Regions from separate parts of the Homo sapiens genome. Here region 1 is linked to region 2. The links are contacts of gene promoters, found by promoter capture Hi-C in human tissues and cell types (Jung and others, 2019). All regions are on one chromosome and are shown on one strand. The core of a region is centred on a gene start or on the middle of the fragment in contact, and the rest is flanking DNA. Distances in the headings are between cores, read along the strand shown. Region 1 has its middle 38 kb from the start of LINC01070. Region 2 holds the start of SPACA7 (sperm acrosome associated 7).

Region 1 (3,969 bases), core at 578-3,077, 140 kb after region 2:
CCCCCTGAAAATCGGTTATGAAATGGATGCTGTGTCTTGTAATTAACAATGTCTTAACCCATAGGAGCCATGAGCATGAGGCTGCATCAGTTTTATTCAAGAAAGTGTATCCGGTGCCTCAGCAAGCTCCCTCCCTGGGCCTGGCACATTAGCAAACCTAAGCCAGCAGTGTGTAAAGTGATCATCCATCTTGACCAAGCCGTGTTTAACTCAGGGATCCAAGCAAGCTATTACTTTAGATAATATATAAGCTTAATTTGTAATACTTACAGACTTTTAAAAAAAGTACAGTTATTGCAATAGAGAAGGAAAAGTCTTTGATAATTGTCGACATCATATAATGCTAACCTTTCACTAAATTAAAAATAGGAAGAATTTTCCTCACCTGAATTGAGGGTCTGTACTGCAAGCCTTCAACAATGGTCATTCTTAGTAAACAATTATGAAATGTTACCTTTAAAATCAGAGATAAAATAAGGATGCCAGCTATCACCAACTCCACTCAATGTGCTGCTTAAAGTCCTACCTGGTGTATTCAGTCAAGAGAAGAAAGAAAAGATTTACGGGCTAATAAGGAAAAGAATTTTTAAACATACCGTCGGAATCTGCAGACAATGTGATTATCTACATAAAAAACCTAGCAGAATGCACAAATATTTATATTTCACAAGCGCTAAGCAAGGTTGCATAATCAAAATCAAGATCACAGTACAGAAGTCAACTGCATTTTTACTCACCAGCAAAATACAGGTAGAAAATACCACTTTCAAAGAAACCATTTGCAATAGCAGCAGCAACAACAAAATCATTAATTTGTGTGGTGATTGTTGATGTTCACTAAATATTTCCAGTTCTTTTGCCAAGCACACAGGGGATCACATGGGCCTTCCCCACTGAATTTAGTGTGGCCCCATGAGCAGAAGGGGTGCGTATTAAGAGGCAGTGAGCGGTTCTCAGCCTCCCGCTGCAGTGGCAGCAGGTTTGACGTGGGGCTGCCCCATCAGCCCCGGTCCTGGCTGGAGCAGCGTCACCAGGCAGCCTGTGTATTCAGAAGCAAAGATGCGTAGTGGGCATTTGTTGCTTGAGGTCACTGAGACTTGGCATTGTTTGTTACTGCAGTGAAATCTACCCTTATCCTCACTAGTCTAGAAATAGAAGAAAGATGCTAGGGTAAAAAATAATCCTCAAATACCTGGCATTGTCTTAGTAGTGAGTTGAAGACCGGCAACTGTTACTGAAGGCTGAGAAGATGCCATCTACATCGTGCTGAAGAAAGCATTTGGTGAAGGTCCTTCTGGAGGAGCCAGAGAGTCAGGTCACGTGTGTGTTATGTGTGTTGCTACCAGGTATTGGTTGGTGCACTGGTCTCCTAGCACTGTTGTAGCAAAAGTACCATACACTGGCTGGCTCCGAGAACAGACATGTATTCTCTCATAGTTCAGGAGGCCAGGGGTCCAAAATCAAGGTGTGGCCAGCAGCCCGCCCTGCCACAGAAGGACCTGGGGGAGCCCTTCTGTGTTTCTTCCTAGCTTCTGGAGGCTCCCAGAGGGACCTGGCCTCTCTCGGCTTGTGGCAGCCCCACTCCGGTCTCTGCCTCCTTCTTTACAAGGCCTTCTCCCTGTGAGTCCGTGCCTGTATCTTCATGTGGCATCTTCCCAGAGAGTCTCTGCGTCTCTTCTAATAAGAACTCCAGTGACTGGGTTTAGGCCCACCCTAATCCCATGTGGCTCATTTGGACTTGATTACATCTGCAAAGGTACTATTTCCAAAAAAAATCCCATTCGCGGATACTGGGAATTAGGGCTCGGTCATATCTTTTTGGGGACACAGTTCTAGCCACAGCAGTTGGCAGTGTCTGTACAACAAAGTATTACAAGAAAGGGATAAGCTTGTCAGTGGCAGGCAGGACTCAGAGGGGCAGAGAGCCCTCAAATTCAGGGACTCGTAGGATTGGAACAGACAGTTGCTTCTCCCTTGATAGCGTAAAAAGTAAACTTGGAAATGCTTTGAACTGCCACGACTGTTTGGATCTCAGCCTTTCAGGCAAGGCTGGTCAAGTGCTTGGTCCCTAGACTCATTGTTAACATCTCTTAATAGACTAGCACATGAGGGAACCCCAAAGGCTGCCTTGGTTAGAGACTCCTTTAGCAAGGACTAAGTGGCTCCCGGAAGAGGGCAAGGGTTTCAGCCTCCCAGCAGAGCCCATGATACCAATAGACAGGTCAGTCCTATCTGCTGAGGGCCACAGGAGTAAGGAAGCCAGGGAACGTGGCAAGTCTACTAGGAAGACCTACAGAGTCGCTGAGCATGCAGCTCTTGATGTGTGTGCTGTGTGGAACCAAACAGAGAAGCAGCTCACTAAGCTCTTGAAGACTTTACTGCCAAAGAACCACACACTGTGGCTAAGAGAGACTAAGATTTTAGGGAATGAAAGTGACCCTTGGCATCCACCATCTGTAAACAAGAAGGGGTCTGGGAGGGAGTGCATCTGATGCCCACAGTGAATGTGGCCATGGAGGCGAATGGAAAAGGGATGTGTTTGTTAGGCCACTCTTGCATGGCTATGAAGGAGGACCTGAGAATGAGTAATTGATAAAGAAAAGAGATTTAATTGGCTCACTGTTGGGCAGGCTGTGCACGCATGATGCCTGCATCTATTTGGTTTCTGGGAAGGCCTCAGGGAGCTACCAATCATGGCAGAAAGCAAAGTAGGAGCAGGTGCTTCATATGGCAGGAGTGGGAGCAAGAGAGGGAAGGGGGAGGTGCCACACACTTTAAACAGCCAGATCTCACGTGAACTCAGTCATCACCAAGGGAATGGTGCCAAGCCGTTCATCAGGGATCCACCCCATCGCCTCCGGCCAGGCCTCACCTCCAACACTGGTGATTACATTTCAACATGAGATTGAGAGGGGACAAATGTCCAAACCATGCCAAAGAAGAACCACCCAAGAGGAGGGGCCCAGTGCCTTGAAGGGCGACAAGCAGCAAGCCACCCCCAGGAGCAGGACCAGGACCTCATCAAGAGACAGCCCGGAGCGGGTCCACACCACATCTGCCTGGTTATTGTAGACCAGTGACTGTGGCCCGGCCTGTCCTCCTTGCTCCGAGTGGGGCCATTCATCATGGTTGCCTATATGGCCAACTGGATGTTAGGGGCACACATCCTACACTTGCTGGGTCACAGATCCCCGGGCTCTGAGGGGCTTGATCTGGGCCTGATGAAGAAGCTACCGGGCATTGCTCAAAGATCCTGGACTCAGCCCTGGATGCAGAGACAGGACACCACCCTGGGATATGGGGCTGGGCTGCACAGAGGAAGGGAGGGGACCCAGTGCTTGCTGGCCAGAAGTGTGGATCGCTAGGGCTTAGTGCTGCCAACCGAAACACCTCCCCTCTCCACACACACTGGCAGAGCAGGGGTAGCCCCGGGACGGGCGTCAGCCCAGGAAATGTGAGTGGAAGTGCATGTGTCACCTCCAGGCGGAAGTCTGAAGGCTCCTTTCCTTCTGGATAAAATTGCGACTAGCAATTGAGATGGTGTCTTCTCTGTCACTGTGGGTCACAAACTGAGTGGAGCCCACAGTTAAAGCAAGAGATAAACTTTTATCATTTTAAGAACTGAGCTCTGACACAGCAGTTACTACGGTGTGACTTAGCCTGGATTAAATAGCACAGTTCTCGGGAATAAACCGACAAGCAATGCGCGGCTACGGCAGAAAACTGCAGCACTCTGTTCAGTGACATTAAGAAAACCTAAATAAACATCCACCATTTGAAGACTCAGTATCACAATGGTGTCAGTGACGTCACTTGGCTCTATAGATGTAATGCATTTCTAATGAATACCTCAACACAGACATTTGAGGAGACTGACCAGGAGCAGGAAGAACCTAGATGTTTCTAAACAAGAAACATAATGGTGAGGGCTTGGAACAGCCCAGCCACACATCAAGACTTAGGTATTAG
Region 2 (4,185 bases), core at 983-3,482:
TGAGTTTTTGGCTGGGCTTCCTAGCCTCAAAAAGCTTTTAAAAAATCTAATCTGAGATTCCTTGTAAAAAGCTCCAGCAGAGAAAACTCAGTTTATGTGGTCCATTACCATTCTTGCTGCACTTATGTAAATAATCAGACCAAATCTTGTAAGATGTGATATATTTTTGAGACAAGAATAGCATTACTTTGGTTATCTTGATCAAAAAAAGAGGGTGACCATAGAGCCATATTTTATGTTTTAATGAAAAATGGTAGCACACCCTTGTGAGTTATAACCCTGTGTATTCTACTTTTTTTTATCTTTTGATAAACTCCACCTTACTTTCTACTTTGTTATCTACCTGTAAACTGGACTGGATCCTGAAGCCTTTTAGAGTCCTTCAATGTTCCCAGGCTAACATTTCCAGTCTTTCTTCTGCCCTCCTGACTGGGTGTTAGTGAGAACTAAAGCCTGACAACTCAGGCCTTCCGTGGGACCATCTGGAAAGGCTGAAGCTGGACACATCCACGCTCTGCCCCCAGCATAACCATGACTGTGGCTCTGATGGTCATGATGTCACCAAGGACACACCCCCTGCAAACTAGGAAATCCATCCTTGCCCCATCGGCTGAAGATACCTTGAGCCCAAAATCCAGAAATCTTCTCAACAGACTGCCCTCTGGATTCGGAAACTGTGTTTCCAACTATAAATCTTTGTTTTTCTTCTCTTTTTCGTAGACATTCCCCTCATTAAATTCCCGACTACTTGTACCATCCAGCACACATCCTCCACCAGATGAAACATGGACTTATCTTGTTCAAAGAGAAAAGGAATGTCTCTTCTTTCTTGAACAAGAGGAGGGAATGAGAAAGCCTCGCTCCTTGACTTACCTCATGCCAGGCTCCTCTGAGTCTTCTCTTTGACTAGGCCTTGACCCTAGCTTCTGCTTTTGTCTGCTTTTCCCCATGTTTAGTAGGAATCCTGTGAAGTCTTTTAGTGGAAATCCCCTAGTCTTGGCCTGGTCACCCTTGATATCTGATCAAATTCCTCACCCTCCATCTTTGATTATTTTATTGCCTTGGCTTCCTTTCAGGTCTGGCCTCCTGTTTGGCCGAACACAATATACACAATAATTGAACTAGAGGGTGAATACATGGAGGTTCATGATATTCTTCCAAGTTAGAAATTTTCCATAATAAAAAGTTAAAATAAGTAACATATGCAACTCTCTCATGGATGTCTAGATTTTAAAAGGTCTTCAAAGATAGCAGACCTTTGTGTCCTGTTGCAAGGATAATCAATTTTTATTAAACTTATGCAAACAATTGTATGGTCCTGAAAATCATAATATCCAAATTCTAGAGTAATCAGGTGGGACAAAAAATATAAATGCTTCATTTTTGTTTATAAAAGCCCTCTTGGCCTTTGCTGAATCAGTTTAGCAAAGAATTCTCCTACCTTTTAGCAATGTTCATCCACTGACCCACCCTGATCCTTGGCTGCAAATCTCCACTTTCCCTGTATTTGGAGTTGAGCCCACTCTCCACTATTATGAGACACCATGGTAGTAGCCCCCTTTGAATAAAGGCTGCCTGCCCATCTTTAGCAAGCATCACAAATATTTTTTAACGGTATGAGCTGAGATAAAGGCTTTTGGTAATTATGTTAGTCTGATTATGACATTGTAGATAATGCTTTTATCTCTTCGCAAGAAAATGTTTTACATGAGGTGGTAAGGCATCTGGGATGGTGCTAAAATACTCCCCAAACAAGAAAAGTGTGTGTATGTGGTGTGGAGTGTGTATGTGTGTGTGTGTAGAAAAAAACAAAATATGCACAATAATTGAACCTGAGGGTGAATACACGAAGGTTCATGATATTCTTCCCAGTTAGAAATTTTCCATAATAAAAAGTTAAAATAAGTAACATTTGCAACTTTCCTATGGACATCTAGATTTTAAAAAGTCTTCAAAGATAGAAAGACTTTTCAGCTACATTCATTCCCCAAGGAATAAATGGTAAATTCATGTAGGTTGGGAATAAGAGGAACCCATGGGAGAAGAGGCCGCCGCTCCCCACCTGGTTCAGTTCTCTTTCTGCTGAGACATCCCTGTGGGGCCCTACCTGGAATCACGGTTCTCGGCCGGAGCTCAGTTTCTTGCCAACAGCACAGCAGGAGGACAAAGCAGAGGGTCCCGTCTCCTTGGCTCACTGCCATGCTCCCTCCAGCTGAGGGAGAAGGACGTTCTGAAGGTTGACAGTTTCCCATCCTTGGTCTCCAGGACACTGTGGAATGTCAGGACCTGTGACATCACAACCAGGAAGGGAGCTGGGGTCCTGCCCTGGTGGGGAGGTCATGTCCAGGGACCTGTGACATCAGGACCAGGAAGGGAGCTGGCATCTTGCCAGGGGCGGGGGGCAGGGTTTCTGTCCAGAGTCTGTGACTGGGAAGCAGGGAGGAGGCTCACTGGGGTCTTAAGGTAACAGAGATCCTCTCCACTCTTTCTTATTGCCTGTTCTGGTGACTTCCTCTGTCCTGAGCACCCTGAGGACTCAAGGGGTAGATACTAATCAGGACTTAAGGGCCAGTGGCCAAAAGCCAACAAAATCTGCTCCCATGGAAAGAGGCGTATTTGAAGGATGCTGGAGAGGTGGTTGAATTACAGAGCAAGTGCCAGAACCGACAGATCCAGAGGGTCTAATCACCTCTTAAAGGTCCCTTGAAGAACAGAGCCTTGAAGAACAGAGGCCCGTGGCCCCATGTCCCCTCCCACCCTCCCCCACCCTCAAAGTTCCAGGATCATGAAGAACAGGAGACAGATGACCCAGGTTTCAGCCTCCTTTCCCCCACACCTTCTTTCTCAGCATCAGCCCCAATCTTTCCCTGGCAGTGAGACTTTAATCACGAGAGGAGAACATGGCTGCATTTCCATGTTATCATCCTCCCAGCTCTATCTCCTAGACTTTCTAGAGCTTTCTCCATCCGTGCAGTGACAAAACCCCAAAGGAGTCACTCTGGTTGGCTCCCCTGGATCCTATCTCACCCCTGGACTGACTCCTACATCCAGGGCTCAGAGTGGGGCAGCTGGTCTAGACTCGGCCGGTGGTGGGGTCCCAGGTGAACAGCCCTCAGATCCCAGCTCCATGGTGGAGAGGGCTGGTGTGTTTGTCTGTTCCCACACTGCTATATAGAACTTCCCTGAGACTGGGTAATTTATAAAGAAAAGAGATTTAATTGACTCACAGTTCTGCATGGCTGGGGAGGCCTCAGGAAACTTACAATCATGACGGAAGGGGAAGCAGGCACCTTCTTCACAAGGCGGCAGGAGAGAGAGTACATGAAGGAGGAGCTGTTAAACACTTATAAAACCATCAGCTCTAGTGAGAACTCACTTATCATGAGAACAGCATGCAGGAATCCACTCCCATGATCAGATCGCCTCCCACCAAGTCCCTCCCTCAACACGTGGGATTATGAGGATTATAATTCAAGATGATGCTTGGGTGAGGACACAGAGCCAAACCATATCACTGGGGCCCTGGACGCACAAGACTAACAATGCCCCCGAGGTCTGGTCAGGACCCCAAGGATGGCTGACCCACCATGGGTCTCTGGCTCTTTAATTTTTATTGCTTGTATGGGAACCCACAGCACATTTTTGCTCAGGTTTTCCTTTTGATAGATGCAGTGGTAGCCAATCTACCTCAAGGTGTGGGGAGTATATTTCAGATTTTCAGCGTGTCCATAAAGGCACACTAAGCATGGTTGACATTTACAGAAACCCAGTGGGTTCCAAGTCCCACTCTGAGTTAATGAATGGTCCAAGTGAGATGCTTGCTTCTATAACCCAGGCTCTTGCTACTCAGAATGTCATTTTGGGGCCAGCAGCATGGGCCTAAGAGGCTGAATGTACAAACGGACAGCAGCCAGAGCTCCCATGACAGCAGAACCCTGCACTGCTGCCTGTCGAACGACACCCACTGCACCAAGGAGGGATGTCTGGCTAAGGCAGGCCAGGGACTTCCACCTCAAGGCGGAGGATGAGGAATTTGATCAGGGCTGGGGGCGAGGCCTCGTTGAGAAGAGGGGTCAGAGGAGCCTCGCTGATTTGGTCGAGGAAGGAGTCATTCTCAAGGCTGCCCGAAGCTCGGTGACTTGATACAGCCCATGTGTGATTGCTTACAACTTTGTGGGTTGGCTC

The links. Contacts are between HindIII fragments. The study calls those that stand out against the background at their distance.
Region 1: a fragment that was not itself captured here is called in contact with the fragment with the promoter of SPACA7 in region 2 in 2 of the 25 tissues and cell types used here (dorsolateral prefrontal cortex and spleen).

Annotation. Positions count from the first base shown.
Region 1 is chr13:112,233,755-112,237,723 of GRCh38, reverse strand. No RefSeq gene overlaps it. Among named protein-coding and RNA genes, the nearest start is that of LINC01070, 38 kb to the right of the region's middle. The HindIII fragment of the contact is 3,897 bases long and covers 1-3,775 here.
Region 2 is chr13:112,374,402-112,378,586 of GRCh38, reverse strand. SPACA7 (sperm acrosome associated 7) reads right to left here and starts at 2,232. Exons shown (of 7, transcript NM_145248.5): 1 at 2,108-2,232. The coding sequence starts at 2,201. It overlaps LOC105370373 (a long non-coding RNA gene), which reads left to right and starts at 2,309. Exons shown (of 3, transcript XR_944295.3): 1 at 2,309-2,463. RefSeq lists an enhancer at 1-780. The HindIII fragment of the contact is 14,702 bases long and covers 1-4,185 here.